Linked DNA regions of Homo sapiens: all the other regions are linked to region 4. Evidence: promoter capture Hi-C in human tissues and cell types (Jung and others, 2019). All regions are on one chromosome and are shown on one strand. Each heading gives the region's core, a stretch centred on a gene start or on the middle of the fragment in contact. The rest is flanking DNA. Distances are from core to core; before and after follow the strand shown. Region 1 has its middle 8.8 kb from the start of IFNL3. Region 2 has its middle 15 kb from the start of FBXO17. Region 3 overlaps LOC124904713 (a long non-coding RNA gene). Region 4 holds the start of PAK4 (p21 (RAC1) activated kinase 4).

The links. The method cuts DNA at HindIII sites, captures the fragments that hold promoters and counts their contacts. A contact is called where the count stands out against the background at its distance.
Region 1: a fragment that was not itself captured here is called in contact with the fragment with the promoter of PAK4 in region 4 in 7 of the 25 tissues and cell types used here (H1 embryonic stem cells, IMR-90 fibroblasts, bladder and 4 more).
Region 2: a contact is called between a fragment that was not itself captured here and the fragment with the promoter of PAK4 in region 4, in 1 of the 25 tissues and cell types used here (IMR-90 fibroblasts).
Region 3: a fragment that was not itself captured here is called in contact with the fragment with the promoter of PAK4 in region 4 in 1 of the 25 tissues and cell types used here (dorsolateral prefrontal cortex).

Annotation. Positions count from the first base shown.
Region 1 is chr19:39,252,501-39,255,200 of GRCh38, reverse strand. It overlaps the pseudogene MSRB1P1. Among named protein-coding and RNA genes, the nearest start is that of IFNL3, 8.8 kb to the right of the region's middle. The HindIII fragment of the contact is 6,715 bases long and covers 1-2,700 here.
Region 2 is chr19:38,989,428-38,992,127 of GRCh38, reverse strand. No RefSeq gene overlaps it. Among named protein-coding and RNA genes, the nearest start is that of FBXO17, 15 kb to the right of the region's middle. The HindIII fragment of the contact is 7,056 bases long and covers 1-2,700 here.
Region 3 is chr19:38,935,823-38,938,522 of GRCh38, reverse strand. LOC124904713 (a long non-coding RNA gene) reads left to right here. Exons shown (of 2, transcript XR_007067253.1): 2 at 1,671-2,700. Among named protein-coding and RNA genes, the nearest start is that of MRPS12, 6.2 kb to the right of the region's middle. The HindIII fragment of the contact is 4,061 bases long and covers 1-2,700 here.
Region 4 is chr19:39,124,474-39,127,173 of GRCh38, reverse strand. It overlaps PAK4 (p21 (RAC1) activated kinase 4), which reads right to left and starts at 1,388. Exons shown (of 10, transcript NM_005884.5): 1 at 1,255-1,388. The HindIII fragment of the contact is 13,366 bases long and covers 1-2,700 here.

The sequences.
Region 1 (2,700 bases), core at 137-2,636, 130 kb before region 4:
GCCAAGTGTGGCTATGAGCTGTTTCCCAGCCGCTCAAAGTACACATACTCATTCCCCTGGCCGGTGTTCACCAAGACCATCCGTTCTGACAGCGTGGCCAAGCGCCCAGAGCACAATCATCCTGAAGTCTTGAAGGTGTCTCGTGCAAGTGTGGCAACACGTTGAGCCACAAGTTCCTGAACGATGGCCCCAAGCTGCGGCAGTCCCGATTCTGAATGAATATTCAGCAGCTCGCTGAAGTTTGTCCCTAAAGGCAAAGAAACTTCTGCTTCCCAGGCGCACTAGGCGGGCAGCCCACACCGACCCCAGATGGCCACGGCACTAAGGCCACACACTGGCCATTCTACCATGGAATTCGAGACCTGGACATTGAGACAGGAAGGCAGGGCACAATGGCTGAAACATCAAGGCTCCCAAGGCCGCAGCTCTGAACAAGATCTTGTTTCTTGGAAAAGTCACTTATTTGCTGATGGTTCCTGCCTTCTGCTAGGACAGGCTTGGGCTGTGTGGCCACACTGTCGGCTGACTTAGCCTCCTGCTCACCTGATAAGGCATCTCAGGGGTGTGGTCTGGGCGTGGCTGGTCTTTGAATGATGTTACGCCCGACCTTCGACCTTTCCTTCCCGGTCCTGCCTCTGGACTCACCCCTGTGGGGCCCAATTTCAAGACAGACTCTCATCCTCACCAAAGCTTAGGCCCACATCTCCCAGGCTGCTTACGAGACAGAATGGAAATGGAGGCTGCCCTTGACAGCTGCCCCGGCTCTGGTCGCCACATGATCCGCTGTGGTTAAACCCTTCCAGACCAGCCAGGTGATGATGGTCCGTGACCCACCAGGAAAGCAGGCTGATGGGGCAGACCCCTGGCCTCTTGTCCAAGAGGGGAGAAACCTAAACCCTGTTTCACAACCTGCGCAGAAGTAGCTTGGGTCACTCGGGCTTAGGAAAGCGGCTGTTGCTTCATTACTTTACCCAGCATGGGGCTGGGGGCCTGCAGTTCACCTGCAGAGAGCTCCCCAAGATATGACTGTGTGTCTTACTGTACATGCTCGGAGGTCTTCCCACAGGTGAAGGTGGGCGATGCTGAAATCACCCCCCCACCCATCTTAAGCATCTTAAGTAATTACCTTCTGGAGTAATCAGGCGGAAATCAATAAACAAATGAAACGTGCAAAAAAAAAAAAAAAAAAAAGAATGCAAAGAGTTACTGTGTACCCTTTACCCAGTTTCCCCCAATGGTAACATCTTGCGAAAACCATGGTATTATATCACATAGAGAATATTGACATTGTGTATTAGTCCATTCTTATACTGCTATGAAGATGCTACCTGAGACTGGGTAATTTATAAAGGAAAGAGGTTTAATTGACTCGCAGTTCTGCATGGTTGGGGAGGCCTCAGGAAATTTACAATTATGATGGAAGGGAAAGCAGGCACCTCTTACATGGTGGCAGGAGAGAGAGACAGTGAAAGAAGGAGGAACTTCCAAATACTTAAAACACCATCAGATCTCGTGAGAACTCACTCACTATCACAAGGACAGCATGGGGGAACCACCCCCATGATCAGATCCAATCACTTCCCACCAGGTCTGTCCCTCAACACCTGGGGATTACAATTCAAGATGAGATTTAGGTGGGCACCCAAAGCCTAACCATATCACATTGATACAGACAAGATACAAAACACTCCATACCACAAGATCCCTTGTGTTGCCCTTTCAGTAGCCACGTCCACTCCTCTCCCATCCGACCCCTTCCTTAACCTCTGTCAACCACTAATCTGCTCTCCATTTCTATAATTTTGTCATCTCAAGAATGTTGGAATGGAAACATACCAGCCTGGCCAACAAAGTGAGACTGCATCTCTGGGGAAAAAAAGAAAAGTTAGCTGGGCCTGGTGGCACGTGCCTACTACAGGTAGCTGGCGCCCCAGCTACTTGTGAGGCTGGGGTGGGAGGATGGCTTGAGCCTGGGTGATGGAGGCTGCAGTGAGTGGCGATTGTGCCACTACTATGCTCCAGCTTGGGCTACAGACTGAGACCATGTCCAAAAAAACAAAAACAAAAAGCAACCTCTGCTCTGCAAAAGACACTGTTGAGGAAATGAAAAACCTGCCACCCTACCAATCAGGGGTTGGTTATTAAATGATCCTGCTGGAATGGAAGCTCTAATAGTGGTGTGGGGGTGGGGGATGTCTTCCGTTTGCCCCTCCTTATCTACTGTCCCTGCTTCTCCAACCTACTCTGGGCCCCAGGTAGAGGGGAGAGGAGGTCAGGTGTTTTTTCCCCAGGGCTCCTCCCTGTGCTGGGCCACCACAATTCATCTGTTTCCTCCACAAATCTAAGTGACTCTCTCCTCCCCAAGTCAGGCAACCACATGCACACCCTCAACCCTCTCCCCTTCCTTTAGGCCTGTGGATGAGGCCCCTCACCCATGCTGGCCCCAGGAGCTTGCACTAGCTCTTGTCATTTGCCTTTACTATCCAATCGCTTTATAAAGGCTTCTGGTATCAACCCCACCTCAAATTATCCTAAATTGACGGGCCATCTGTTTCCTGCTGGGCCCTAACTGATACGCTATAATTAAAGATGTGGGAGAATGCAAATGAGAGATAATGGTAAGACATAAAAAGCCAGCTACCAAACTGTATACAGCATGGTTCCAATTTGGGTGAAATTGCTCACAGAAAGGAAAACAAA
Region 2 (2,700 bases), core at 19-2,518, 130 kb after region 4:
TGGTCTCTGCTCTGCCACTCTTTGCCTGGAAAACCCTGAAAAGGTATTTTTTCCCTCTGAGCCTGTTTCCCCGTCTGTAAACTGTTTCCCCATCTGTAAACAAAGAGAGGTGATGATATTCAAGAGGCTTAAAAACAGCACAGTGCGGCCGGGCATGGTGGCTCATGCCTGTAATCCCAGCACTTTGGGAGGCTGAGACAGGCAGATCAGCTGAGGTCAGGAGTTCAAGACCTGCCCAGCCAACACAATGAAACCCTGTCTCTACTAAAAACATGAAAAGTAGCCGGGTGTGGTGGCAGGCACCTGTAATCCTAGCTACTTAGGGGACCATGGCAAGGAGAATCAGTTGAACCCGGGAGACAGAGGTTGCAGTGAACTGAGATCGTGCCATTGCACTCCAGCCTGGGCAACAGAGCAAGATTCTGTTTCAAATAAATAAATTAATTCATTAAATAAAATAAACAACACAGCCCAACCAAGCAGAATGGGGTGGGGTGGGGGTCTTGAGCCATGAACAATCTGGGCCGAGCTGTCCCGCATTGGTGGATGATGACAAGGACTAAGTGAAATTCCTGGGTCCGGGGTGAGCCACTGTGATGATTCTCACCCAGGTCACTGTCCAGAGGCTGCATTCTTGGCCAATTCTCTTGGAGGTCCGCCAGCTCCTCGTGGCACCAGCTGGGAAGAGGAAGGAGGGAAGGAGATGGGCAGGAGAGGAGGTGGAAGAAGGGCGGGTTTCATTCTCAGGCTCTGAAGCCCAGGGCTGGTGAGGCAGGGGTCGGGCACTCACTCAGTAAGTCACAAAGCAGGTCTGGGAGCCTGCGAGGGTCCCTTCTCCCCAACATGTCATTGCCACAGTGCTGCAGATCCCAGGCGTCCTCTGCAGGACCAGGGAGTAAGGGAGGCACCAGCCCCGGGCCACACACCCTTACTGGCCGGGCTGTGCCTGTCCCTGCTACTTGGACTTAGTAGCCTTGACCCTGTCCTTGGGAAAGGCTTTGAGCCCTTCCATGATTACATCATCATCCCTGGAGGAACACTGCAAAGTCTTAGCTCCCCTCCTTCCAGTCATCCCTGCCAGGCTCTGGCTGCCCCGTGGTCACCCGGCCACACTCCCAGACTTCTCCAGGGCAGTAAAGAACTCAAGCTAAGTCTTGAAGAGGTAGAACCTAGAATGATAATTTTCAATTTTTAGATCATGACCAACGGATAAAAGTCACAACCAGCACAATTTTTAAAAAATGAAATTCAATAGAAAACATCAGAGTGCACTGCACACAGCAACGGGTAAACATTGCTGCAGAAATTCTACTTTCAGGTGTATTGATTGTTGTGTAAAATACATTTCTTTTTTTTTTTTTTTTAGATGGAATCTTACTCTCTCACCCAGGCTGGAGTGCAATGGCACAATCTCAGCTCACTGCAATCTCTGCCTCCCAGGTTCAAACAATTGTCCTGCCTCACCCTCCCGAGTAGCTAGGATTACAGTCGCCCGCCACCACACCTGTCTAATTTTTGTATTTTTGTAGAGACAGGGTCTCACCATGTTGGCCAGGCTGGTCTTGAACTCCTAACCTCAGGTGATCCACCCACCTCGGCCTCCCAAAGTGCTGGGAGTACAGGTGTGAGCCACCGCACCCGGCCAGAATGCATTTCTTACTCAGACTATGGTTACAAAATGTAGAGAAACATTGGCCTTGAAGTTCATAGCACATACCCAGAAAGATTTTGCAACCTTCTGAACCTATTCAGATTCCGCACGCCATCTTCAGGGAGCGGCACTCTTATTTCACCAGCTGCCAGACCCAAGAGCCTGGCCTTGTCCTGGACTCCTGTCTCTCCCCATTTCTCACACCAAATCCAGTCCAGCAGCAAATCCTTTTATCTTTCCTTCAAAGGACATTCAGAACACGCCTGACTTCTGCCATCATCCCTCAGACAGGATCATCCCGCAGCTGGGTTATCACTCCTCCACCTTCGAGACAGCAGAACCCTAAGAGAGCGCACTGCACATAACAGGTGTTAGGCTGGGCGTGGTGGCAAACACCTGTAATCCCAGCACTCTGGGAGGCTGAGGCAGGAGGATCACTTGAGCCCGGGAGTTCAAGACCAGCCTGGGCAACATAGTGAAACTCTGTCTCTATTAAAAAAATAAAAATAAAAAAATTAGCTGAGTGTGGTGGTGTGCACCTGTAATCCCAGTTACTTAGGAGGCTGAGGCAGTAGGAATGCTTGAGTGTAGGCGTTGGAGGCTGCAGTGAGCTATGATGGCACCACTGCACTCCAGCCTGGGCAACAGAGTGAGACCCTGTCTGAAAGAAAGGAAGAAAGAAAGAAAGAAAGAAAGAGAGAGAGAGACAGAGAGAGAAAGAAAGAAAGAGAGAGAAAGAGAGAGAGAAAAAAGAAAGGAAAGAAAGAAAGAAAGAAAGAAAGAAAGCAAGAAAGAAGGAAAGAAAGAAGGAGAAAGAGAGAGAGGGAGGGAGAGAGGGAGGGAGGGAGAGAGGGAGGGAGGGAGGGCTGCATGCAGTAGGCGCTCATCTGTGGATTGACTGGTGGCAGGGCTGGGCTTGGAGATTGCTTGGCCAGCCTCCTCCCTCTGTCCCCCTCCAGCCTGCCCAGAGCCTGTTATTTGATCTCCCCCAACATGGGCTCCTCGCCTCCCCTCCTCCAGGTCTCCAGACTCTGAGGTTTGTAAGCTGA
Region 3 (2,700 bases), core at 129-2,628, 190 kb after region 4:
CATGTTAAACAGCCCAACAATTTGCCAGACTTATGTAGGGCAAGCAATTGAACCTACTCGTTAAAAGTTTTCACAGTGTTACATTATTCATTATATGGATGATATACTTTGTGCTGCCCCCACTCGAGAAGTATTACTCCAATGTTATGATCACTTACAAAATTCGATTTCTTGCGCTGGTTTAATTATAGCTCCTGACAAAATTCAGACTACTACTCCTTACTCCTACTTGGGGACCTTAGTAAATGACACTACCATTGTGCCACAGAAAGCAACCATACATAGGAATCAATTGAAAACATTAAAGGACTTTCAAAAATTACTAGGGGACATTAATTGGATACGACCTGCTCTAGGCATTCCTACCTATGCCATGAGTAATCTATTTTCTATCCTTAGAGGAGATCCTGGTCTCACAAGCCCTCGGTAATTAACAAGAGAAGCTGAGGCAGAGCTGCGGCTAATCGAAAAGCAAGTCCATAAAGCTCAAATAAATAGATTAGATCCAGAGAAGACTCTAGATTTGCTAATTTTTCCAACTCAGCATTCACCTACTGGTGTTATTGTTCAAGAGTGAGATCTTGTAGAGTGGCTTTTTCTTCCACATACTAATTCACGGACTCTAACTCCTTATTTGGATCAAATTGCTACTATGATAGGAAATGGGAGAACTCGGATTGTTAAATTACATGGATATGATCCTGGAAAAATTATTATCCCTCTCACAAAGGCACAAATACAGCAAGCTTTTATAAATAGTCTTACTTGGCAAACCAATTAAGCTGACTTTGTGGGTATTCTCGATAACCATTTTCCTAAACAAAACTGTTTTAATTTTTGAAATTAACTAATTGGATTCTCCCTAAAATAACTAAATTTAAACCAATTGAAGGTGCTGAAAATGTTTTTACAGATGGGTCTAGTAATGGTAAAGCTTCTTATTCTGGCTCAAAAAGTAAAGTTTTTCAGATGCCCTATACTTCAGCTCAAAAAGTGGAGCCTGTAGCTGTAATTGAGGTAGTGACTGCTTTTCATATGCCTATTAATGTGATTTCTGACTCTTCATACGTGATTCATTCCACACAATTAACTGAAAATGCTCAGTTACAATTTCCTGCAGATGAACAACTGATGATTTTATTTACCCAACTGCAAACAGCAGTTAGGAGTAGAATGCACCCTTTTTACATCACTCACATTAGGGCTCATACACCTCTTCCAGGCGTCACCTTTTGCAGTGTTTTGCAGTGATGGGCATTCCAGCTTCTATTAAAACAGATAAAGCCCCAGGCTACACTAGCCGAGCTCTAGCTACATTTTTCTCTATACGGAATATTAAACACATTACTGGTATCCCATATAATTCTCAAGGACAAGCCATAGTGGAAAGAATGAATCTCTCCCTGAAACAGCAGTTGCAAAAGCAAAAAAAAGGGGGGAAAACAAGGACTACGGGACACCCCATATGCAACTGAATCTAGCATTGTTAACTTTAAATTTTTTGAGCCTGCCTAAAGGCCAGATCCTATCAGTAGCTGAACAGCATCTACAGAAACCAGCTGCAAAGACAGAAGCAGAACAACTAGTTTGGTGGAGAGATCCAATAACAAAAAGTTAGGAAATAGGTAAAATAATAACTTGGGGTAGAGGTTATGCTTGTGTTTCTCCAGGACTGACTCAACAGCCGATTTGGATACCATCAAGACACCTGAAACCTTATCATGAGCCAGATGCTGAGGAAGAGATTCCGGGAGGAAACTGAGGACCCCCCCCACCCCCGGTTGCAGCCATGTCGAGACTGACGCTGAGGAAGACCCCAACTGTCACGAGCAACACCTGTCAAACACAGCCACCCACCTGGAGACAGATCAAGAAGCTGTCACAGATGGTGGAAGAAAACCTGAGGAAAGTGGGACAACCAGTCGCAATGAGTAATTTAATGGTAGCTATGATAGCGATGATCACCACTGCCATGAGTATTCCTTCAATAAGGGCTGACACAGAGGACAATTATACTTATTGGGCATATTTATCAATCTTGGCTGGCAATAATGCCTGGATGTAATCACTCTATGACACAGTTATACAAGCTTTCTGATCTCATAATAAATCTGCTCCTATAATTGAGGCATACTGCCCTCAAAAACATATTTGTAAACAGGATTGGACCCAGTTAGCAAAAATGAACGTACTTGTTTAGGAAGATTGCTTTGCAGAACAGGCAGAGGTGCTGCACAACAATTCCTATGGAATCATTATTAATTGGTCACCTATGGGGATGTTTAGCTTGAACTGCACCTCTCAGTCTGCATGCCATGGCCACACTGTGATCAGCTCATCTGAACAAAATGGTCAGATGATAGAAATGGTAAGAAATACAGCAAGAGTTCCTATTATCTGGAACCATGGCAGTATAGTGGCACCTCAGCCTCAAATGATATGGCCTGCTCTAGGAGCTAAACATAAGCATTTGTGGAAACTGTTAATAGCTCTTAATAAAATCAAAATTTGGGAAAGAATAAAAAAGCATCTAGAAGGCCACTCTACAAACTTGTATTTGGATATTGCAAAATTGAAAGAACAAATATTTAAAGTATCCCAGGCACACGTGAACTTAATGCCAGGAACTGGAGTGCTTGAAGGAGCTGCAGACAGATTAGCAGCTAGTAACCCATTCAAATGGATAAAAACACTTGGAGG
Region 4 (2,700 bases), core at 139-2,638:
CCCAGGGACACTCTCCCCAGTCAGAAGCCCGTCGGACTCCCTTGCTCGGACTCCAGACCACCTACAAACACCCTACTCCCATAGGCTCACAGGAATCTTCCCTGCCAGATCACACCCTTCCAAGGAAACCAAGCAGACAATCCGATCCGCCCAGGGAGTGGCCCAGCCCTGCCCAGCCCCCTGCTTCCAGGAGAGACCTAATGGCTGGCAGCGGACAATGTGGCGACCAGGGGCAGGAGCCCTGGAATCACCCAGGCCCAGCTTCGATTCTAACTCTGCCTTCAGCAGAAGCTTCTGAGCCTCATTTTTCCCGTCTGTAAAGTAGGTTCATCTTGAGCACTCACTTCACAAGATTGCAGCAGGAGTGAAATACGACCGGGCACACAGGGCGTGGAGCACAGTGTGAGCCCTCATTAAACATTAACCGACATTATGATGATTTGAGAGGCGGTCGGCCAGAGCAGGGCTCTGGGCCAGAACTCCGGAGTTAGAATCCCAGCGCACAACTTATGCATCGGGTGACCTTGTGCAAATCACTTAACCTCTTAATACCAGGTTAAGACCCCCTAAGACTATAGTGAGGACTGAATAAGCTCATACAAGTAAAGCGTTAAAAAGAGGGTCTAGCCCATAGTGTTTCATGAGTGTTTGCCATTATTATTTGTGGGAGGGTTCCCCCTTCTCCTGTCACCAGGAAGCATCTCTGACCCGGCCCCCCCCCCCCCCCCCGTCCCCCGCAATACGCCCTCCTTGGGTTTTAATTTTTGACTCTGGGAAACAGCTGCCCCGCTGTCAGATTCTCACCTTTGTACCTTCTAGGCACGCCCCAGCTTTGAACCCCTAAAAGACGCCCCCGAACCTAAAACTCATTCATCTGCTCCGCTAGGGGCAGCTTTAAACCTCCAACCTGGCGCCCCTGGGGCTGTGACCTCTGACCCTCGTGGGGGCAGCCTTCCCTCAAATTATTAACTTTGACCCTGCCTTTTTTGAGACTCGCCCAGAACCCCTCGAACGCGCCCCCACTTCGAATTTCAAACTTTGCACTCCCCTTCGCCACGCCCCCTTCGCTGGTTTGATCTCCGACCTCCACTACAACTCCCTCCAGTCTGCGTTAACCCCCGACCCCTCGGACGCGACCCTTCCCTCCACCAGTGACCTTTGACCCCGGCGGCCCCGCCCCCCTCCTCGCGGAAACGCCGTCCCGCCGCCAGCGCCCGGCCCACCGCAAGCCCCTGGCCGGACCCCTTATCCTACCGGCTCGGCGCCGCAGTCGCTCGCGGCCTAACTGCTCGACCTGGAACTCCGCGCCCTCGCGCCTCCCTCAGCTCTCTTGCACCGCCACCACCGCGGACACTCCCGCCGCCATGTTGAATCCCCAACGAACATCCGGGGCTTTCCCCCCTCACCGCCCACCAGTCCCCATAGCAACGAGGCTGACCGGGCAGTGGGCAGGGCCAGTGCGGGGGCGGAGTCGGGCGCCTCTCAGGGCCCGCTCCAGCCTCCGATTGGTACAGAGCGTCCAATCGGAGACCTTCGGGCAGAAAATGCCAAGCGGGGATTGGAAATTTTGGAAAAGGTGCGGGAAGGCTGGCTCCCGGCCCACTGAGGTCCTTAAAGGGGAAATGACTGTTTTCGTGTGATACCGATTTTCTAACTTCCCCCCCAGAAGGAGTTAGGGGCTGGGAGAAAGTAATGAGTTAATGGGCAGAAACAGTTCTTAAGCACTTACTAGGAGGCAGGCACCGGGATAAGTGTTTTACTTGCATTTTCTCGCTGCATATACAACCCTGTGGTATAATATCATTAATACCCATTTTACAGATAAAGAAACAGAGGTTCAGAGGGTGAAATAGCTGGCTTAGCATCATAGAAAGAAGGTAATGAGTTTTGAACGCTGGTCTGTCTGAGCCCGGGAACCTGAGACTGTTTGCTCTTCAATTTTTAAATAAGTTTTTACGAAGTAATTGGTCAAAATATTGAAAACAAACAGCAGACATCTTCTTTAAAAATTTTTTTAAATTTTATTTTTACTTATTTATTTGTCTTGAGATAGAGTTTCGCTCTTGTTGCCCAGGCTGGAGTGCAATGGCGCGATCTCAGCTCACTGCAACCTCCGCCTCCCGGGTTCAAGAGATTCTCCTGCCTCAGCCTCCTGAGTAGCTGGAATTACAGGCGTCCACCACCACACCCAGCTAATTTTTTGTATTTTTAGTAGAGACAGCGTTTCACCATGTTGGCCAGGTCGAACTCCTGACCTCAGGTGATCTATCCGCCTCGGCCTCCCAGAGTGCTGGGATTACACGTGTGAGCCACCAAGCTGGCCTTTTTCTTTTATTTTTAAAGAGAGAGTTTTGTTGTGTTGGCCAGGCTGGTCTCGAACTCCTGGGCTCAAACTATACTCCTGCCTCGGCCTCCCAAAGTGCTGGGATTGCAGGCGTGAGCCACTGCGCCCGGCCAGACATCTCTCCTCCTGGATCTTATTCACTGGACTCCAGCCTTCATGCTGTTCCTGAACTCTTGTCAGGTGCGCTCTCACCTCACAGTCTTTGCACTGGTTGTTCCTCTGCCTGGAACATACTCTTCCCCCAGGTATCCTTATCTCTCCCTCCCTTTTTTCAGGGCTTTACACAGATGTCACTTTCTCTGTGAACTAATTCCCTCGCTCACCCTAAGGAAAGCAGCAAACATCCCTCTCACATA